4 separate regions of the Homo sapiens genome follow, and all the other regions are linked to region 3. Evidence: promoter capture Hi-C in human tissues and cell types (Jung and others, 2019). All regions are on one chromosome and are shown on one strand. The core of a region is centred on a gene start or on the middle of the fragment in contact, and the rest is flanking DNA. Distances in the headings are between cores, read along the strand shown.

What was found. Contacts are between HindIII fragments. The study calls those that stand out against the background at their distance.
Region 1: a fragment that was not itself captured here is called in contact with the fragment with the promoter of CDKN1B in region 3 in 3 of the 25 tissues and cell types used here (dorsolateral prefrontal cortex, heart right ventricle and liver).
Region 2: a fragment that was not itself captured here is called in contact with the fragment with the promoter of CDKN1B in region 3 in 2 of the 25 tissues and cell types used here (H1 embryonic stem cells and lymphoblastoid cells).
Region 4: a contact is called between a fragment that was not itself captured here and the fragment with the promoter of CDKN1B in region 3, in 3 of the 25 tissues and cell types used here (H1 embryonic stem cells, liver and mesendoderm cells).

Annotation. Positions count from the first base shown.
Region 1 is chr12:12,160,775-12,164,344 of GRCh38, forward strand. LRP6 (LDL receptor related protein 6) reads right to left here. Exons shown (of 23, transcript NM_002336.3): 9 at 3,499-3,570; 10 at 1,419-1,645. Among named protein-coding and RNA genes, the nearest start is that of MIR1244-4, 51 kb to the left of the region's middle. The HindIII fragment of the contact is 4,425 bases long and covers 1-3,570 here.
Region 2 is chr12:12,128,133-12,131,400 of GRCh38, forward strand. It overlaps LRP6 (LDL receptor related protein 6), which reads right to left. Exons shown (of 23, transcript NM_002336.3): 19 at 2,651-2,761. Among named protein-coding and RNA genes, the nearest start is that of MIR1244-4, 18 kb to the left of the region's middle. RefSeq lists a silencer at 2,895-3,095. The HindIII fragment of the contact is 4,393 bases long and covers 1-3,268 here.
Region 3 is chr12:12,715,223-12,718,617 of GRCh38, forward strand. It overlaps CDKN1B (cyclin dependent kinase inhibitor 1B), which reads left to right and starts at 2,146. Exons shown (of 3, transcript NM_004064.5): 1 at 2,146-3,092. The coding sequence starts at 2,618. It also overlaps a transcript of GPR19 not described here. RefSeq lists silencers at 1,530-2,099, 2,524-2,712 and enhancers at 2,120-2,169, 2,250-2,349. The HindIII fragment of the contact is 13,879 bases long and covers 1-3,395 here.
Region 4 is chr12:12,052,369-12,055,736 of GRCh38, forward strand. It overlaps a transcript of BCL2L14 not described here. Among named protein-coding and RNA genes, the nearest start is that of BCL2L14, 17 kb to the right of the region's middle. The HindIII fragment of the contact is 6,182 bases long and covers 1-3,368 here.

The sequences.
Region 1 (3,570 bases), core at 321-2,820, 560 kb before region 3:
TAGAACTAGAACCTAATCCTTGGCCAAATGCCCTTTCAAGTAAACTAGTGAGGTGCTAGTTTTTGAGACTCTTGAATACTGGAACTAAAAAAGCACATCACATGCCAGCTCTCACGAAATACCTGAGGACATATATTCACTCATCAGCCTGTCAGCTGATAGCTGACTTGGTAGCAATGTATGAACATGCTTTTCTGAAAACTGAAGGTGTCCTGCCTTTATATGCATTTGCACTTGTCATTTGACAGGCATGTGCACACCACAAGAGCCAAAGAGAAACAACTGTGAGAGAAATTTCATACTTGCCAGCAGCAACCAATTAGTCCCAACTATTAAATTTATCTGTCTGGCAGCTAATGTTTAGAGCAAAGATCACCACAATATGTCAGTGCTGACTAGATGAATTACTAGCTAATCATGGAATCAATGTCACTTCAGGGAAATTATTTTAAGTAGCAAATACAGTAAACATATTTATATGTTCACACTGTTTACTTCTTTTTTTTTTTCCAAGATGGAGTCTTGCTCTGTTGCCCAGGGTGGAGTGCAGTGGCACGATCTCGGCTCACTGCAACCTCCACCTCCCAGATTCAAACAATTTTCCTGCTTTAGCCTCCAGAGTAGCTGGGACTACAGACACATGCCACCATGCCTGGCTAATTTTTTTTTATCTTTAGTAGTTACGGGGTTTCACCATGTTGGCCAGGCTGGTCTCGAACTCCTGACCTTGTGATCTGCCCACGCCTCGGCCTCCCAAAGTTGCTGGGATTACAAGCGTGAGCCACCACGCCCGGCCTGTTGACTTCTTTTATAAGTGGAATTTTTCTTTAGATTTCAGATTTCTTAGCTGCCGGCTTTAAAAAATTTGCTGACTCTTGTAAAAAGGAACACTCGCCCTTGAAAAACATCATGTTGTGAACAGTTTATTCTATCTTGTAATAACAAAGCTACTGCCAGTTTATAATAATGATCAAACCAAACTATCCATTTTGAATTAATAAATACTCCAAAATAAAGCTTTTTAAATGTAGTTTTTTCTTAGCTCACAACATTGTTTCGGTGGGTTTACTTCAATAGGCTTGGAATCTAGTATAACTGGGAAGGAGTGCAAGCAACTACAGATGGATAATACCTCTTGGTATATATACTTAACATATCAGTATACTCATCAGTAACATTTATTAACCCATTCCCCTCTTTCTTCACCTAAAGTTAATTACGACAAGAGTAAAATTAGCTAATAATTATTCATTCAAATCAGCAAAATATCAATAGTGTTTTTAAAAGTTCATCTATCATTTAGTTCTCAGATTCCTAATACGTATTATTTAAAACATTAAGAATATCATCTGTAACTATGCCATGTTCCCCGAAATGTACACTGCAGTTGCAAAGAATGCACATGTAAAGCTGTTTACCCTTCGGCAGGGTCCAACGCGAGAGCTCTGGGACTATCTAGGTCTTTCCACACCAAAACTTGTCGGTGCTGCCCATCCAACTTTGACACCTCAATTCGATTCGTTCCTGTGTCTGCCCAGTACAAGTTCTTCCCAAGCCAGTCTACTGCCATGCCTTCTGGATAATCTAAGCCGAATTCTACCACATGTTCCAGTGCACTGCCATTCATAAAGGCTCTGCTGATGGTCTGCAAAAGAACATTAACAACTAAGTCATATGGCATAAGTCTAAACCCTATCCAGAAAGAAGGTTTGGTTTGGTTTTTGTCAGGGGCAAGAGGATCCAGAAGTGCCAAGAGGCATACTATTTCCTATTAAAATTCACATAACTTGCAAGCACAGAAAAATTTGATGTCAATCTCTAATAAATGCAACTTCAAGTTTTACTGCCAATTCAGGGGAGAAATTTTAAAACTCTAATGCACCAAAAATTTATTCTACTAACAGCAGAATGACTTTACTTTTAAAATTTATCAGTAATCAAGTGGAAAAGCTGTGACCACAATGCTACAGATCTTAATTAGTGGTCAATTTTCTAAAGGTGCTTAAGATTATGGCAAGTCATCATGCCTACCATATAAATGAATGTAACCATTATACTACCATTATAGCACTGAGTCCCATAACACTTTTAAAAATCATAATTCAAACTAATAATAGATACATCTTATCAAGTATTATCCTAAGTACGTTTTGTCCGTAGATTTTGTCACTTAATACAACAGTCCTGCAAGTATGGCATCACCCCTATTTTATGTTTTTGAGACAGAGTCTCACTCTGTCACCCAGGCTGGAGTGCAGTGGCATGATCTCGGCTCACTGCAACTTCTGCCTCCCAGGTTCAAGTGATTCTCGTGCCTCAGTTTCCCGAGTAGCTGGGATTACAGGTATGCGCCACCATGACCAGCTAATTTTTGTATTTTTAGTAGAGACGGGGTTTTGTCATGTTGGCCAGGCTGTTCTCAAACTCGTGACCTCAGGTGATCCATGTGCCTCAGCCTCCCAAAGTGCTGGGATTTACAGGCCTGAGTCACCGCACCCAGCCACCCCCCATTTTCAAGATGAGGAAATTTAGAACATCACCCAATGCAAACCAAAATTTATTTATTTCATTTATTCACTTAATAAATTTAACTGAACACCATTAGAATCCAACTCTGACTCCAACACCCCATGTTTTCGCATATTACAAAAAAGTTTACATGAGTTATCTGAAACAAGCCCAAAACAATCTGGAAGAAGAAAAGATTATTCTTCAGATTTATAGGTTGGGAGCTTCCTCTCTGGCTATCCTGGTATTCTTTTCAGTAACTATTCTAGGAAGAAGAAAATAAAGAATAACTCATTGTTGGCCTTTTCCGCCTCAGTCAGGCCCTAAAATTTTGTTTAAAGTAAATCACGAATTTTTTTTTAAAGTAAATCAACAGCCATTTTACGTGAAGCACACATTTCCTTACTCAGCTAATTGCAGAAAATGTCATTCATCATTTTCAAATGGAAGAAAGTAGAGGAAGACTATGGCTTGCAGATTTAAAACACTCTGGCAAAGTATCTGTATTAAAAAGCATCTAATAAAATACTGAATGGGCCTTTCCCTTCACTTAAAAACTTAAGGGTTTTGGCTGGGCGCGGTGGCTCACGCCTGTAATCCCAGCACTTTGGGAGGACGAAGCGGGCGGATCACGAGGTCAAGAGTTCGAGCGGCCTGGCCAACATGGTGAAACCCCGTCACTACTAAAAATACAAAAATTAGCTGGGCGTCGTGGCACGCACCTGTAGTCCTAGCTGCTCGGGAGGCTGAAGCAGGAGAATCGCTTGAACCTGGGAGGCAGGGGTTGCAGTGAGCCGAGACTGCACCACTGCACTCCAGCCTGGGTGACAGAGCAAGACACCGTTTAAAAAAAAAAAAAAAAACTTGAGGGTTTTTGTTGAACTCTGCCTGTCAAACAATGAGGGAGGTGGGTCACAGCATGAAGATTCAGAAATTCTAGAAGTTCTCCCTTTTAGTCCCTAGCTTTAATATTCCAATTCTTTTGCTAACCTTGAGTGATATATCAGTCCAATAAATTCGGTTGTCTGTCACATCAAAATCCAAAGCAGAAGCTTCTTTGAC
Region 2 (3,268 bases), core at 445-2,944, 590 kb before region 3:
CTTTTCTGTCAACAGTCAAAGTTCTACTATTTGCCATATTCAATATATTCATTTCACTAACCTCTTTACACAATACTGCTGGCTCCTGTCTTCTCTTTAAAAAAAAGTCTGATCAATATTCTTCCAAGATACCACTCTCTTAATTTTACTATTTCTGATTATTCTTTCTCTGCTTCCTTTGTTGGCTTCATTCTCTTCTGCCTGCATCTTAAGTGCAGGTGCTTCCCAGAGAGATTTCTATCTATCACCTACTATTTTCCTCCTCTTCTTACTGTCCTGGGAGATTCTATCTACTGTCACAGCTTTCATTATTATCAATAAACTAATGAGCACCAAATCTCTCTTCTGAGCCACAGTTCCTTATAATCAACTTCCTGAAGAGCTTCAGTGGGATATTCCATGAGTACCTCTCAGGCAACATATCACAAACTGAACTCACTGTCACCATGATCAGTCATTTCTCCTAGATTCCAGGGGTAAAGACACCATAAATAAAGTCATCTAGTATAAGATAATAAAAAGTGATGGGGCTTGTGGCAAAGTACACGCCTGCCTAAAGGCATTTAATGTAAATTAAACATCACATCAATCAAACATTACATCTGCAGCCAAGATGTGGTATGGTACTTTGGTTTTCAGTTCCTGCTATATATCCCATTTAATGACTCCAGTCACTCAGTGAGGTACCTGTGGGTCAACTTAAACTTATCAACTATAGCTAAGTGGTTACCAATTCCTCTTTATTCTACTTCTGAAACAACTCCGAAATCTGTTCTCTCCCTGCCACCCCCACTCCTCCTCCTCATGATTTAGATCTTTATCATCTTCTGCCTAAACTCTAATCGCTTCCTTTTTAAATTACAGGCTGCAAGTCATTCGTAAATGGTGAGAATGATTTAGTGGGTTACAACCAGCTTTGAAAAAATAAAACAGAAAATGTCAGAAAGTGTTCTATATAACATGGGTAAATATTTAAGTGTTGTGTGACACCTTTTTAAATGCATGAGCTCACATCTCTGTATTCCTCTTGATGCGATCAGAAGTTTGAAAGCAATCAATCTAACAGATTTCCCTGCCTATAAGCTTATCACCTCCAACCCACTGGCTTTACAACTTCTGTATTGCTTGACCATGCTAGTCTTTTTCTTGAAATTTTCAGTGACTCTCCACTCCCCATTGTTAATATTGTCTAGGCTCTTTAGAAGAAAAGCATAGTCCTCCATGATTGTACCTTTACCTATGTTATCTCTTGCTGACACCCCTCAACAGAGCCTGTATTTTGGCAGTCCCATTACATGGAGTTTCCCAGAGGTGCCTGTTTCACTCTTTTCTGCTTTTGAACAGTATATTCCCTCTGCCCAAAATGAAATTTCTCCAATTATCTACATGATGAACACTATTCATTGATCAACACCCAGTCTTTTTTTTCTTTTTTTTTGAGATGGAGTCTCGCCCTGTCGCCCAGGTTGGAGTACAATGGCACGATCTCGGCTCACTGCAACCTCCACCTCCCGGGTTCAAACGATTCTCTTGCCTCAGCCTCCTGAGTAGCTGGGATTACAGGTGCCCGCCACCACGCCCAGCTAATTTTTGTATTTTTAGTAGAGACGGGGTTTCACATGTTGGCCAGGCTGGTCTCGAACTCCTGACCTCGTGATCTGCCCACATTGGCCTCCCAAAGTGCTGGGATTACAGGTGTGAGCCAGCGCACTGGCACAACACCCAATCTTAAATACCATTTTTCTAAGATGCCTTCCTTGATCAAGTCCATCTTTGTCCCTAATAAGCTGACTACTCTCTCATTTCTACTGCCACCTGTGTAGATTTCTATTACAGCACTTATACTCCATAATCAATGTATCTACTATGAACCAGGCTATGTGTTTTTTAGGCTAAATGATATATATGTTAAATCATTTAATTTTCTTATAGGCATCAGGTTAAGCATCATTCTCTTCATTTTGAAGATGAAGACCTGTAATTCCAGCACTTTGTGAGGCCAAAGTGGGTGGATTGCTTAAGTTCTGAATTGAATTCAGACCAATTGAATTCTTTTCTTTTTTTTTTTTTTTGAGACGGAGTCTTGCTCTGTCGCCTAGGCTAGAGTGCAATGGTGTGATCTCGGCTCAATGCAACCTCCGCCTCCTGGGTTCAAATGATTGTCCTGCTTCAGCCTCCCAGTAGCTGGGATTACAGGCATGCACCACCACGCCTGGCTAATTTTTGTATTTTTAGTACAGCTAGGGTTTCACCATGTTGGCCAGGCTGGTCTCGAACTCCTGACCTCAAGTGATCCGCCCACCTTGGCCTCCCAAAGTGCTGGGATTACAGGTGTGAGCCACCACGCCCGGCTGATTTCTATGTATCTAAATGATTTGAGAATTTTGTAACTTTGGTTATAGTAAAATAATATTTACTCTTTTCTAGTGCTTTACTAAATGTTTCTGTGAAGATTTCTGTGCATAAGAAAACTGCTATGTTTAAAGAATTACTGAAAGCAAAACATAAAAAAACCTTCACACAAATAATTAGCTTAATATTAATACTTATTACTTAGAAAGGAAATCTCGATAAGTAAACCTCACACATAAGAAAAAAAATTGTTTAAATTCTCTGTTAAGAGTAATTTATAGATCTCAGTCCTACTTACAACAATCCAGTTCATCTGACTTGTCACTGCAATCCACATTATGATCACACTTCTTGTGCTTTCCAATGCACTGACCATTGGCACAGCGGAACTGATCAATTAAACAAAGCACTGGAAAAAAAACATAAATAGTTTCCTTATTTTTAATATCATGTAAAGTCAAACTCTGGCAAGAATCAAAAGGTGCCTTCTGAACACAAATGAAAAACAAATTAGACTTTTAGCTATAACTTAAATATTATTCTCTGGAGTTCCATTGGTTGAGAGAGAGAAAAAAGAGTAGGAGAAAAAAATCCAGCAGGAAATTTCCTAACATTTTTTTTTTTTTTTTTTTTTTTTTTTTGAGACGGAGTCTTGCTCTGTCGCCCAGGCTGGAGTGCAGTGGCGCGATATTGGCTCACTGCAAGCTCTGCTTCCCAGGTTCACGCCATTCTCCTGCCTCAGCCTCCCAAGTAGCTGGGACTACAGGCGTCTGCCACCAGGCCCGGCTAATTTTTTTGTATTTTTAGTAGAGATGGGGTTTCACCGTGTTAGCCAGGATGGTCTCTATCTCCTGACCTCGTGATCCGCCCGCCTCGGCCTCCCAAAGTGCTGGGATTACAGGCGTGAGCCACCACG
Region 3 (3,395 bases), core at 896-3,395:
ACAATTATCTAATTTCTAGGGTAAGGTATAAATTATGGTAGGGAGGCCTACCCTAATTTTCCTGTTCCTTTTCCCCCAGTCTGCAGTCCAATAAATTGACAGCCTTAAAAGTAGAAAAACTAAAGAGGATGAGACCTCTTGCTTGATCCTAGGTGAATTCTTTTCTGTCAGTTAGGTAGGAAGTCCTGACTTGAAAACTAGTTCTGGGCACTGCCCCCTTTACTGTTCTCTGGGTATCAACCCCTGTCCTTCAATTTTAGTTGAACTAGTGGATGGTGATACCACAGGCTCAAGACAGCTGCATTTAAATATCAGTGACCACAGGCCACATCAAGGAAACATCTGCAGGCAACCCAGGGCCTGGGAAGGAGCCATTTTCAGTCACTTGTAAGACAGCAGGACCTGCAGACTACAGCACAATCAAACTCAGACAAAACCCTGAACCAGTGAGAACCATTAGGAAGGAAAGGAACAGAAAATGAACCAACCTGAGTGTTAGGAGACTTGCATCTAGTCCTGACTCCGGTACCAACCGAATGCATGTCCCTGGACAGGAAACCTCTCTGAGTCTCGATTTCCTCCGTGGTAAAAAGGAGAGGGTTAAACCACAGGGTCCCGAGGGTCCCTTCCAGCTGTCACATTCTGGAGCGTATGAGATGAGGTAGGCACACAAAGTGGACAAGATGTGGCTAAGAAAACAAGCTACACATCAAGCTCATCTGTAGCATAGGTGCTTAAGAAAACTTTGCTGCTGTGTAATATTAGAACGGAAGGTTGGTTTCCAGTAAAATGCATTAACTTTGGCTCAAACCAAGATGATGGGTACCGGGCATGGGGGTGGGGAGGCAGTTGAAGATCCACTGAGCTTTGTCTCAGGGCAGCCCTGCTCATCGTCCTACTTTACCTTCCACCACGGTGCTCAAGCCCACACTGAGAGAGAAATTTCCAGCTGCAAAAGGGAGAAGAGAAACGCTGGAATACTAGTATCGGACGTTAGGACATGGTTGTGGTGTTTTAAAAATCATTTCATCATCTGGAGTTTGACCCCGAGGGGAGTATTTTCACCCTTCAGCCCTCTGAAAGCATTCACTAGCATCTGAATATTGTTCTGAGTTTGTTGGAGCAGTGAAATCTGGTGAGAGAGAAGGGTGGAGGAAGGAAGGAGCTGTTGTATTTGGCGGCTGGACTCAGGTAGAGGAAACTGCTACAATCCCGGGAAAGAACAGAAAAGTAGAAAGGGACGAGTTCCCACACGCAGCCAATGTCCATGGCCTTAACTGTGCTTGGGAAGGAAGATCCTGGGCCAGGGGTGTACCCTCGTTTTTCAAAACTAAACGTGTCTGAGACAGCTACAAAGTTTATTAAGGGACTTGAGAGACTAGAGTTTTTTGTTTTTTTTTTTTAATCTTGAGTTCCTTTCTTATTTTCATTGAGGGAGAGCTTGAGTTCATGATAAGTGCCGCGTCTACTCCTGGCTAATTTCTAAAAGAAAGACGTTCGCTTTGGCTTCTTCCCTAGGCCCCCAGCCTCCCCAGGGATGGCAGAAACTTCTGGGTTAAGGCTGAGCGAACCATTGCCCACTGCCTCCACCAGCCCCCAGCAAAGGCACGCCGGCGGGGGGGCGCCCAGCCCCCCCAGCAAACGCTCCGCGGCCTCCCCCGCAGACCACGAGGTGGGGGCCGCTGGGGAGGGCCGAGCTGGGGGCAGCTCGCCACCCCGGCTCCTAGCGAGCTGCCGGCGACCTTCGCGGTCCTCTGGTCCAGGTCCCGGCTTCCCGGGCGAGGAGCGGGAGGGAGGTCGGGGCTTAGGCGCCGCGGCGAACCCGCCAACGCAGCGCCGGGCCCCGAACCTCAGGCCCCGCCCCAGGTTCCCGGCCGTTTGGCTAGTTTGTTTGTCTTAATTTTAATTTCTCCGAGGCCAGCCAGAGCAGGTTTGTTGGCAGCAGTACCCCTCCAGCAGTCACGCGACCAGCCAATCTCCCGGCGGCGCTCGGGGAGGCGGCGCGCTCGGGAACGAGGGGAGGTGGCGGAACCGCGCCGGGGCCACCTTAAGGCCGCGCTCGCCAGCCTCGGCGGGGCGGCTCCCGCCGCCGCAACCAATGGATCTCCTCCTCTGTTTAAATAGACTCGCCGTGTCAATCATTTTCTTCTTCGTCAGCCTCCCTTCCACCGCCATATTGGGCCACTAAAAAAAGGGGGCTCGTCTTTTCGGGGTGTTTTTCTCCCCCTCCCCTGTCCCCGCTTGCTCACGGCTCTGCGACTCCGACGCCGGCAAGGTTTGGAGAGCGGCTGGGTTCGCGGGACCCGCGGGCTTGCACCCGCCCAGACTCGGACGGGCTTTGCCACCCTCTCCGCTTGCCTGGTCCCCTCTCCTCTCCGCCCTCCCGCTCGCCAGTCCATTTGATCAGCGGAGACTCGGCGGCCGGGCCGGGGCTTCCCCGCAGCCCCTGCGCGCTCCTAGAGCTCGGGCCGTGGCTCGTCGGGGTCTGTGTCTTTTGGCTCCGAGGGCAGTCGCTGGGCTTCCGAGAGGGGTTCGGGCTGCGTAGGGGCGCTTTGTTTTGTTCGGTTTTGTTTTTTTGAGAGTGCGAGAGAGGCGGTCGTGCAGACCCGGGAGAAAGATGTCAAACGTGCGAGTGTCTAACGGGAGCCCTAGCCTGGAGCGGATGGACGCCAGGCAGGCGGAGCACCCCAAGCCCTCGGCCTGCAGGAACCTCTTCGGCCCGGTGGACCACGAAGAGTTAACCCGGGACTTGGAGAAGCACTGCAGAGACATGGAAGAGGCGAGCCAGCGCAAGTGGAATTTCGATTTTCAGAATCACAAACCCCTAGAGGGCAAGTACGAGTGGCAAGAGGTGGAGAAGGGCAGCTTGCCCGAGTTCTACTACAGACCCCCGCGGCCCCCCAAAGGTGCCTGCAAGGTGCCGGCGCAGGAGAGCCAGGATGTCAGCGGGAGCCGCCCGGCGGCGCCTTTAATTGGGGCTCCGGCTAACTCTGAGGACACGCATTTGGTGGACCCAAAGACTGATCCGTCGGACAGCCAGACGGGGTTAGCGGAGCAATGCGCAGGAATAAGGAAGCGACCTGCAACCGACGGTAATGACCCTTTCCCAACCATAGAATGTGTTTGGGGCCCCGCTTTGCCTGCTGGAGGGTGTTAACCTTAGCTTGCTTTTCGGCGTATTCTGATTTAGCTTTGGGAGAGCTAACTTTATTGGTCTTAGGTGTTCAGTGCTACCTGGCCCACTGCTTGTCTGTTTGTGACTTTTAAGTCAGAAACTGGAGATGGTAAGATCCGATAATTTCCCTAACTTAATACATCGCGGTCCCTCTCACTAGCAACTCCTAGGTATGTGACAAAGTTGGGATGTTTATCAACGGTCCGCCTCCTGGCTAGGG
Region 4 (3,368 bases), core at 228-2,727, 660 kb before region 3:
CCCAACCACCGCTCCACCCCCAGTCCCTGGTAACCACCATTGTACTCTCTACTTCTATGAGATCAACTTTCTCAGATCCTACCTATGAGTGAGATCGTGCAATATTTGTCTTTCTGTGCCTGGCTTATTTCACTTAGCGTAGTGTCCTCCAGATTCATCCATGTTGTCCCAAATCACAGGATTTCACCCCTGTTTAAGGCTGAGTAGTATTCTATTGTGCATATATACCACATTTTCTTTATTCATTCATCTGTTGATGGACACCTAGATTGATTCCATATCTTGGCTATGGTAAATCGTGTTGCAATGAACATGGGAGTTCAGGTGTCTCTTCAACATACTGATTTCAATGCCTTTGGATAAATACCCAGAAGTGGGATTGCTGTATCAGGACCTTGGTTTCTTAGCTTCTGTCTGACCTTGAGCATACCTAAAATAAGAGCCCTGAACGAGATAATTTCTAAAGTTTAGTGATAGAGACCAAAAGGAGTATACGTCTGAGCATTCCAACTTAGGCCAAAGCCTAAAAGTGAGAAGCCTGCCCATATCAAGGGAGTGAGGTGTGTGTTTGGGGCAGGGGTAGTAGAAGAGCAAGACGGTTCATGAATTCAGTATTCTTGTTTCACTGATGCAGCACCCATCACCATTCTGATCAGGTCCCTTGGGGACATGGACAGTGTCCTTAGAATGACAATGATGATGGTACCACCAGCACCACCACCACCATTTCTCTAGCATGTGGGTGAGCCAAACACCTTTGGAAACACCTTACATATTTACATTTACATCCTACTGAATCCTCATAACAGCCCTGTGAGATAGATAGAATTTTTATTATTCTCATTTTACAAATTAGAAAGCTGAGGCACAGAAAGGTTAAATAACTTGCCCAAGTCCATAGGGCTAATCTAATAGCAGAGCTGGGATTTGAAGGCAAGTAGTCTCACTCCCTGCTTTTCTTCCTCGAAAAACACAAGGGCAGGGCTGAACTCAGCTCAGGGGACACAATCTATACCAGGACAAGGTTACAATGGCCCTATAACTTCTTCTTCTTCTTTTTTTTTTTTTTGAGACGAAGTTTCACTCTTGTTGCCCAGGCTGGAGTGCAATGGCGCAATCTCAGCTCACTGCAACCTCCACCTCCCGGGTTCAAGCAATTCTCCTGCCTCAGCCTCCCGAGTAGCTGGGGTTACAGGCATGTGCCACCACACCCGGCTAATTTTGTATTTTTAGTAGAGATGGGGTTTCTCCATGTTGGTTAGGCTGGTCTCGAACTTCCAACCTCAGGTACCCGCCTTGGCCTCCCAAAGTGCTGGGATTACAGGCGTGAGCCACCATGCCCAGCCGGCAATATAACTTCTTTTGCATTCTCATTAACTCAGCCTCAGACGACACTGGCTTCCTTGGAAGCCACTGCATACTGATGATTGAAGTGGAGCTGACAATCACCTAAAAACCCCTAAATGCCTTTGACATGAGCCACTCTTAAGCCAGGTCTCTCCCATTCTGTTCACGTGTGGCTGATCAGTTCAAACTAAATGTTGGGTTTTACGTTGAACCCTATACAATTCTAGGTTTTAGCTTATAGTTTCACCCTACTATAATTTTGAAACATGATATGTTACCTAATGTTACCTCTCCCGGTTTAGTAATAACATAAACAAAAACAGTTGACAGTTATGGGGGCCCTGACTTTGTGCCAGACACCCTGCTACGTATTTGTTTGTTTAATGTAATACCTTATATAATCATTTAGTCTTTACACAAAGTTAAATATTATTATTATTCTCACTTAATAGGATAGGAAACCAAGTCTAGTGAAGTTAAGAAGCTTGCTCAAAATCCAATTAGGGGCTGGGCGCAGTAGCTCATGCCTGTAATCCCAGCTCTTTGGAAGGCCAAGGCAGGTGGATCACCTGAAGTCAGGAGTTCGAGACCAGCCAGGCCAACATGGAGAAACCCCATATCTACTAAAAATACAAAAAATTAGCCAGGCGTGGTGGCAGGTGCCTGTAATCCCAGTTACTTGGGAGGCTGAGGCAGGAGAATTGCTTGAACCCAGGAGGTGGAGGTTGCAGTGAGCCGAGATCATGCCACTGCACTCCAACCTGGGCAACAGAGCAAGACTCCATCTCGAAAAAAAAAAAAAATAAAATCCAATTAGGAAGGGACTGACCCAAGAGTCATACCTAGGATTATCTGACTCCAGGGCCTGAACTTTTATCTATGTTCTCTGCAGCGTCCTCACATCTTCTACACACTTGTTATTATCTAAGTCAATCATGAAAAATGATGAAACAGGCCAGGCGTGTTGGCTCACACCTGTAATCCCAGCACTTTGGGAGGCCGAGGCGGGCAGATCATGAGGTCAGGAGATCGAGACCAGCCTGGCCAACAGGGTGAAACCCCATCTCTACTAAAAATACAAAATGAGCCAGGCGTGGTGGCATGTGCCTGTAGTCCCAGCTACTCGGGAGGCTGAGGCAGGAGAATCGCTTGAACCCAGGAGGCAAAGGTTGCAGTGACCTGAGATCACACCACTGGACTCCAGCCTGGGCGACAGAGCGAGACTCCATCTCAAAAAAAAAAAAAAGAATAAAGAAAAATGATGAAACAGAATCAGGGAGAGAATTCAGAGGAAAATGACATCCCTCCAGGTGTGTATGAACCAATTACTCATAGAGTCATAAACAGTTAGAGAATGAGGCATTTTTCACAAAATATTGAGGGCTGGAGAGGTTGAACAATTTGCTCCCACTCACACATCTAGGAAAGAGAGGAGATGGAAAAGTAAACAATCCAGAAAGGTCAAGGCCCTCATTCCATCAATGCACAATTCAAGTACACATACGTGGGAAACCATCTGAAAAGTTTTGTAATTACAATTTCATCTAGCCAGCAATTCTCCAACTCATTCACATGCATCTCATGACATCGTTGTCAGAAGCCTTGCTAGAGTGAACGTGCACTTCATCAAACACACCCCTGATCCGTGGGAGATGGGATTCGTTTGTGCTGATCTACTCTCCAGGAACACAAGAAACTCACCATTCTAACGGTTCATAAATCATCCATTTAATACCCCAGTTTCAGATTTTGCAGGAATTAACATCAATGCACGGTTTTTGAGACCCGCCAACTTGCTGAAACAGTGCAAGCCACCTGCAGTCCTCGGATACCACTCAGTGATGGCCCTAGGTCTCCCTACTCTGGGCCTGAGATTCACTTACAGCTGCAAAACACACCTGTGCACTCTCCTCATAGGCAGAACGCTTTCACTTCTCAGTCATTTCCAACTGAGACTGTTTTCTCTGGTAGAGAATACAGAAGTCAAATGGACTCAGAGTGGTTCTGCCTTGTCTCTGCCT